Linked DNA regions of Homo sapiens: region 2 is linked to region 1. The links are contacts of gene promoters, found by promoter capture Hi-C in human tissues and cell types (Jung and others, 2019). All regions are on one chromosome and are shown on one strand. The core of a region is centred on a gene start or on the middle of the fragment in contact, and the rest is flanking DNA. Distances in the headings are between cores, read along the strand shown. Region 1 holds the start of IGF1R (insulin like growth factor 1 receptor). Region 2 overlaps PGPEP1L (pyroglutamyl-peptidase I like).

Evidence for each region. Contacts are between HindIII fragments. The study calls those that stand out against the background at their distance.
Region 2: a contact is called between a fragment that was not itself captured here and the fragment with the promoter of IGF1R in region 1, in 1 of the 25 tissues and cell types used here (mesendoderm cells).

What each region holds. Positions count from the first base shown.
Region 1 is chr15:98,646,719-98,650,093 of GRCh38, reverse strand. IGF1R (insulin like growth factor 1 receptor) reads right to left here and starts at 1,555. Exons shown (of 21, transcript NM_000875.5): 1 at 419-1,555. The coding sequence starts at 512. IRAIN (IGF1R antisense imprinted non-protein coding RNA) reads left to right here. Exons shown (of 1, transcript NR_126453.2): 1 at 1-3,375. RefSeq lists silencers at 1,531-1,800, 2,171-2,230, 2,291-2,760, 2,771-2,820 and an enhancer at 2,832-3,375. The HindIII fragment of the contact is 5,713 bases long and covers 1-3,375 here.
Region 2 is chr15:99,000,146-99,003,952 of GRCh38, reverse strand. The region is part of intron 2 of PGPEP1L (pyroglutamyl-peptidase I like); the gene reads left to right. Among named protein-coding and RNA genes, the nearest start is that of PGPEP1L, 5.7 kb to the left of the region's middle. The HindIII fragment of the contact is 3,326 bases long and covers 373-3,698 here.

The DNA of each region.
Region 1 (3,375 bases), core at 306-2,805:
GCTGCCTGCGCGCCGCAGGGGATCAGCGCTGTGTGCGGAGAGGCTCTTGCGCATGGAAGGGGCGAGGTGCGGGTCGCGGGGCCCGGGAACCGCGGAGCCCGCCCCGGCACCAACTTCCCTACCGAGTCCTCGCGCCTAGCCGGGAAACACGGCTGGGCTGTCAGGACGGAGAAAGAGAAAAGCCCTTCCCGCGCGGGGATGCGCGGAGCCAGGGCCCGCGGGGCTCCAGACGAACGAGCCCGGGTCCCGGGTCCGCTGCAGCCTCCCTCCCGGCAGAGCCGCCCTGCGCCCCACCCCGCCGCTCCCGAGCCCGGGGGCCCGACAGCTGCGACGGTGGCAACTCGGGTTTCGCAAACAGGGCGCAGCCCCTCGGAGGAAAAGTTCCCGCAGTGGCCGCGGGCGGCGGGCACATACTCACTTTCTCCACTCGTCGGCCAGAGCGAGAGCGCGGCGGAGAGAAACAGGAGCCCCCACAGCGAGGTCGGGGACCCTCCTCCGGAGCCAGACTTCATTCCTTTTATTTGGGATGAAATTCCCCTTTCTCAAAAAAAAAAAAAAAAAAAAAAAAGAAAAGAAAAGAAAAAAAGGAAATGAAAGGAAACAAGTCTCAAACTCAGTCTTCGCTCCCCCTCCAAAAACAAGGGCGAAGGAAACAATACTCCGAAGGCGGCGCCGCCGGGGCCCTCCGGGTGCGCGGACGGGGCGGGCGGCGCGGGGCGGCCCCTCAGCGCCGGCAGCAGCGGCCCAGGGCTCGGCGGAGTCGGGAACCCGAGGCGCGCCGGGGCGGGCTGTCGGCGTCGTCGGCCTCCATTTTCAAACCCGGAGAGGCAGGAAGGGGGGAAAACTGCAAAGAAAGGGGGCAAAGCCCAAATCTGCCTAGGCGAGGAAAAACAAGCCCGGCCCTGGCCGCGCGGGAGGCGGCCGGACGCCCGAGCTTCCGCCGCGGGAGGGCGCGACGCAGTTCGCAAGATCGCCCCGAAGTCCGGGTCACAGGCGAGGCCGGCGAGGGGCAGAAACGCGGAGTCAAAATGAATGAGCGGCTCCCCCTCCTCCTCCTCCTCCTGGCTCCGCTCGCCGCCGCCTCCTCCCTCAGCGCCGCCGCCGCCGCGGCGAGCTCCTTCCCAAATCCAGGACACACACAAAGCGGCGGGCCGGCCGCGCCGCGCTCAGCACTCCCGCCGCGCCGCCCGGCTCTGCGCCGCCGCCCGCCCCGCGCCGGCCCCCGCCCGGCCCCCGCCCGCCGCCGCCTGCTCTGCGCGGGGGCTCCGGCTCGCTGAAGGTCACAGCCGAGGCGAGGCGCGCCGTGGAGCTGCCCCCGCGCGGGAGGGGCGTGGAGGGCGCGGGGGGATCCGGGGAGCGGGGCCGAGGGTCTGCGAGCGCCGGCCGTGGGCAGGCTCGCTGGCGGCGTCCCTCTCGCTCTCCCGCCTCTCTCGAGTTCGCCTGGTGCGCTCGCTCCTCCTCGGGTTTTTTCCCTTTTTTTTTCCGCTCAGCGGAGTTAATGCTGGTAAACAAGAGCCCCAGCCTCGCCGCGCCGCCGCCGCCGCTGCCACACACTGGGGGCTCGCGCGCGCGCGCGCGCCCTGGCCCGCGCACACGCGCCCGCTCGCACACTCGAGCGGCCACCGCCGCAGCAGCGGCGCGCCGAGGGCCCGGCCCAGGCCGGCGCGCGCAAAAAACCGGAGCCCGGTTCCCCAAGACGTGCGGAGCGGAGCCCGGGCGTGGGGCGCGAGACTGCGAGGCGCCGCCCCCATCTCCCGCCCCACCGCCTCCCGCGCGCACACAGAGACACGCGCGCGTGCCCACCCGCTCCCGCCCCCACCGCACTGCGCCGGCCACCCCGCACGCGCCCTCCCCTCCCGCCCGACTCCAAAAACAATGCCCCCGCCGCCGGTCCGGTCTCGGCGGGGCAGGGGTGGGTAGCCAGGGAAAGGCTAGGCAGGGGAGGGGTGGGCAGGAGAGGGGAGGGGTGGGCGGGGAGTGCGGGGCTGGGAGAGGTTCATTGAAAACAACAACAGCGCGGCTGGAAAGCGCGTTTCCCCGGTTCTTGAAAAGCTTCATTGTTTCTTGCAGCTGTTGCAAAATAAATAAATGCGTGCATGCGGCATTTTTTTCGCTGCGTACTGGAAAGCCCGAACGTGGCGGAAGGGGCGCACCTGGGAGAAAGGGGACCCCCCCCCCAGGCTACTACGCCGGGCACTTTCACGCCAGGCTGGGGTGCCCGCGGCGTTGCGACCGTGGAGCCCGGAGTTTGGGGGCTCAGGGGGAGCGGAGGGGGAAGGGCGCGGCCCGTGTGGCTCGGCCCAGAGTGGCTCGAGGAGAGAGGACCCCGCCGCCCCTCGCGGGCCCCGCGCCCCGGAAGGGGGGCCCAGACAGGCAGCGCCGCGTGCCCCGGGCGCGTCCCCGCGGCGGCCGCCAGAGGGCGCGGCGGGCGCTGGGGAGGGCAGCCCGCGGAGAGTCGCCTCCCTCCCTCCGGGGGAGGAAATGTGGGGGCCCGGGCTGGGGGCCGACTCGGCTGGGTCGCGCTGGCGTGGCCTCCCGGACCAGCCGCCCGCCCTGAGCGCTCTCCGCGGCCTCGCGCAGCTCAGGGCTCCACCACGTGGGCGGCTGCGGGGAGCGGCCGGGGCGCGTGCACGCTGCGGGTCTCCGAAGCTCGGGGGGCGTGTCCGGGTCCCGGGGCGCCGAGGAGGGGGTGGAGGCTGGGGCCGGGAAGCCTCCCTTGGCCGCGGTCCCGACCCGGGAACACGCCGCATGCACTCGGGATCAGCGGCTACTGCGGAAACCCACCCGCACCTGTCTCGGGTCCTCCCAGGCACGTTCCTCTTGCTTCGTTTGCTACGTAAGTGACTGGAAACCAGTACCGACCCTAAGTCTCCGCGGTTGTTTTCTTGAATGTGCAGGAGGAGAGGTTTCCCCAAAGCGAGACTCCCCTAGGACTGCCATCTAATGAATAAATGCTGCGGAGACCAGGTCCTCAAAGAGGGAAACAGCCCAGCAGTGGCAGGAGAGAGGAGTTTGAAATACGTGGACTTTTACAAACAGTGATTGGACCATGTGTCGCCCTTAATGTGGTCCGGTTTCATGACTCAGGCTAATTGATGCCAGTAATAAATTTTTTTAAGATAGCTAATAAAAGAGTTGTGAATTGTCGAGATAAGAAGTGGTTGTCTCAAACAATCGGGTAGGATGGTAGAAGGGACCTGATGTAAAGGAAGGTAGTAGGTTTCTTTTACTCTCTAATTCTAAAATACTTCTGCATTAGAACGTGTATCCATCGTTCGTAAATAATTTTTTAAGAGCTGAAAACAAGTCAAAAGCTATCATAACGGAAACTTAGCCCTTTTTTTCTAAAGTTGTTTCCTAGATCATTTTCCTCCT
Region 2 (3,807 bases), core at 786-3,285, 350 kb before region 1:
CTTTTATCTCCCTTGCTCTTATTTGTGTTATTTTGGTTCTGGAGATTGAATGGTTCAAATTACTCTTGAATTCCTAAGGAAACTGTACTCTAATGCATGCAATGCTTGTCATGAATGAAATATGAACATTGAAGCACCATCTTAGAATCACACTGACCCCTGCCTTTGTCTTGTCAGCCTGTGGTTTGCTGGCAAACTGGAAATTGTTTGATGAAATACCTGATAATCAGCCATGATTTGGGAATGCCCGCTGGATTCCAGAGCGTGGCCTTCCTGTGTTAGAAATGCTTAGAGCTGCCAGGGGCAGTCTCTTCATTTAATTGGATTTGCTTCGTGTGTAAATCTCCTCAAGACAATTGGCATGTAGACAGATGGTGGGAGAACGAGGGCTCCGACAAATTGCTTCGAGATCAAAGTGTTCAGACTGGCACCAACGATAACCACAAGAGTGAGAAAACGTGCATCCCTCCCACGGGCCTCTCAGAATTCTAAGATTTCTCCAGCTCCGTTTGCAAGTTGCACTGGGGGCTGACCAAGTTTAAAGTGAGGTTTGAACTTGAAACACAAGAGCTTCAAACCTTCACTTGCAGAGTTGATTTTTCTAATTTAAAACAGATAAGAGATGTCATATTTGCTGATACAAATATGATTCTAAAGCAGAATGTGATTTTTGTGTGTGTTGCTGCATTTTTATTGTATTTTTATTATCCCAGGAGGTACCTGGCTTCTCAGTGCTTTTTTTTTTTTTTAATCTCACTATTTTCTATAACTGCCCTTTTTTTTTTCTGGCTGTTTCCAAGGGCAGCTAAAGTCTTATTTATTCTGAAGGATTTGGTTGAATCAGAGGACACCATGGGCTTTTTGGGACGTTCTGTCCAAAACTGTTTCATTCCCTCAGAAAGTTTTTACTTCCTCATGAGCCAACCCTGTTTGTGGGTCTAGACCCAGATGTTCAGGAATTGCAAAGGTATAATTCAAGTTTCTCTCCAGAACTGGTTCCTAGTCTAAAGGCCTGAGGTCCAGGGAGCTGGGTTCTCAGAGACTGACATTTAGTCACAGCCCTTTCCTCATCAAAGAATATGAATGACTTGAGAAATATGTCACAGGAATCAGAGGTGGAAATGTCACAGGAATCAGAGGTGGAACTGAAAACCTCAGCTGTACTCCGGGATAAAGCTGAGTTAGAGAATTCCACTTGTATCTGCAGCCCACTTAATTGAGCACCTGACTCCATCACAGGCATATCTGGCACTGGCTAGTCTCCCACACAGGAGGCCACACACTTTTTAAAACTTTTTATTTTGAAATAAATATAGGAATTTGCCAAGAAGTGTACAGAGGTTCCCTGTACCCTTTACCCAGCCTCTCCTGATATTGACATATTAACATTTTCAATATAAAAGCCAGGATATTGACATTGGTATAATTCAAAATTTGTGCTTGCAGTATGTGTGCGTGTGTGTGTGTAATTTCAGCTAGTGTAGCTTCCTATCACCACCACCACAATCAAGATACCTAGCAGTACCATCACCACAAAGCTCACTCGTGCTAGCTCTTTACAGCCACACCCACCCGCTTCCTCCCATCTCAAACACCTGGCAACCATTAGTCTGTTCTCCATCTGTATAATCATTTTATTTTACAAATATTTTATGTAGGCTGGGTACAATGACTCACACCTGTAATCCCAGCACTTTGGGAGGTTGAGATGGGCAGATCACCTGAGACCAGGAGTTCGAGGGCAGCCTGGGAAACCTGGCAAAAATACAAAAAATTAATCAGACATGGTGGCATGCACCTGTGGTCCCAGCTACTCGGGAGGCTGACGTGGAAGGATCACTTGAGCCCAGGAGATGGAAGCTGCAGTAAGCTATGATCGTGGTACTACACTCCAGCCTGCATGACAGAGTGAGATCCTGTCTGAAAATAAAAATAGGGCCAGGTGCGATGGCTTATGCCTATAATCCCAGCACTTTGAGAAGCCCAGAGGGGTGGATCACTTAGGGCAGGAGTTCGAGACCAGCCTGGCCAACATAGTGAAACCCCATCTCTACTAAAAATACAAAAATTAGCTGGGCATGGTGATGGGCACCTGTAACCCCAGCTACTTAGGAGGCTGAGGCAGGAGAATTGCTTGAACCCAGGAGGCGGAGGTTGCAGTGAGCTGAGATCACACCACTGCACTCCAGCCTACGTGACAGGGTGAGACTCTGTCTCAAAAAGCAAACAAGCAAAAATAAAAAACACAAATATATAAATGAAATCATACAGTACATGTCCTTTTGAGATTGGTTCTTTTTCACTTGGAGTAATTTAAGGTTCATCCAGGTTGTATGTATCAATAGTCCATTATAAAAAGTTTTTAAACTACTTCATTGAGATATAATCCACATGCTATACCATTTACTCATTTAAAGCGAGTAACATTCAGTGGCTCAGTATAGTCACGAAGTTACATATTCATCACTACAGTCAATTTTAGAACATTTTCAGCACCCCAGAAAGAAACCCCACACCCCTTAGCTTTCACCACTCACGTCCCCCCACAACACACATACCCAGCTTCTGGCAACCACTAATATACTTTGTCCCTATAGATGTGCCTCTTCTGACATTTCATATAAATGGAATCATTTTACATGTGGTCCTTTGCCTCTGGCTTCTTTCATTTAGCATGTTTTCAAGGTTGAGCCACGTGGTAGTGTGTCCAGAATTGGTGGGTTGTTGGTCTCACTGACTTCAAGAATGAAGCCGCGGACTCTCGTGGTGAGTGTTACAGTTCTTAAAGGCGGCGTGTCCAGAGTTTATTTCTTGACTGATGTTTGGATGTGTTCAGAGTTTCTTCCTTCTGGTGGGTTCATGGTCTTGCTGGCTCAGGAGTGAAGCTGCGGACCTTTGGAGTGAGTGTTACAGCTCTTAAGGCAGCGTGTCTGGAGTTCATTCCTCCCAGTGGGTTCGTGGTCTCGCTGGTTTCAGGAGTGAAACTGGAGACCTTTGTGGTGAGTTACAGCTCATAAAGGCAGTGTGGACCCAAAGAATGAGCAGCAGCAAGATTGATTGTAAAGAGCGAAAGAACAAAGCTTCCACAGTGTGGAAGGGGACCCGAGTGGGTTGCCACTGTTGGCTCCCGCAGCCTGCTTTTTTTTCTCTTATCTGGCCCCACCCACATCCTGCTGATTGGTCCATTTTACAGAGAACTGATTGGTCCATTTTGACAGGGTGCTGATTGGTGTGTTTATAATCCCTGAGTTAGACACAAAAGTTCCCCACTAGATTAGTTAGATACAGAGTGTGGATACAAAGGTTCTCCAAGTCCCCACCAGAGTAGCTAGATACAGAGCGTCGATTGGTGCATTCACAAACCCTGAGCTAGACACAGGGTGCTGATTGGTGTGTTTACAAACCTTGAGCTAGATACAGAGTGCCGATTGGTGTATTTACAATCCCTTAGCTAGAAATAAAGGTTCTCCATCCCCACCAGACTCAGGAGCCCAGCTGGCTTTACCCTGTGGATCCCGCACTGGGGCCGTAGGTGGAGCTGCCTGCCAGTCCTGTGCCATGTGCCCGCACTCCTCAGCCCTTGGGGTGGTCGATGGGACTGGGCGCCGTGGAGCAGGGGGCCAGCTTGTCTGGGAGGCTCGTTGGCACAGGAGCCCACGGAGGAGGGGGAGCTCCGGCATGGCGGGCTGCAGGTCCTGAGCCCTGCCCGGCAGGAAGGCAGCTAAGGCCCAGCGAGAAGTTGAGCACAGCAGCTACTGGCCCAGATGCTAAGCCCCTCACTGCCTGGGGCCGGCGGGGCTGGCCGGC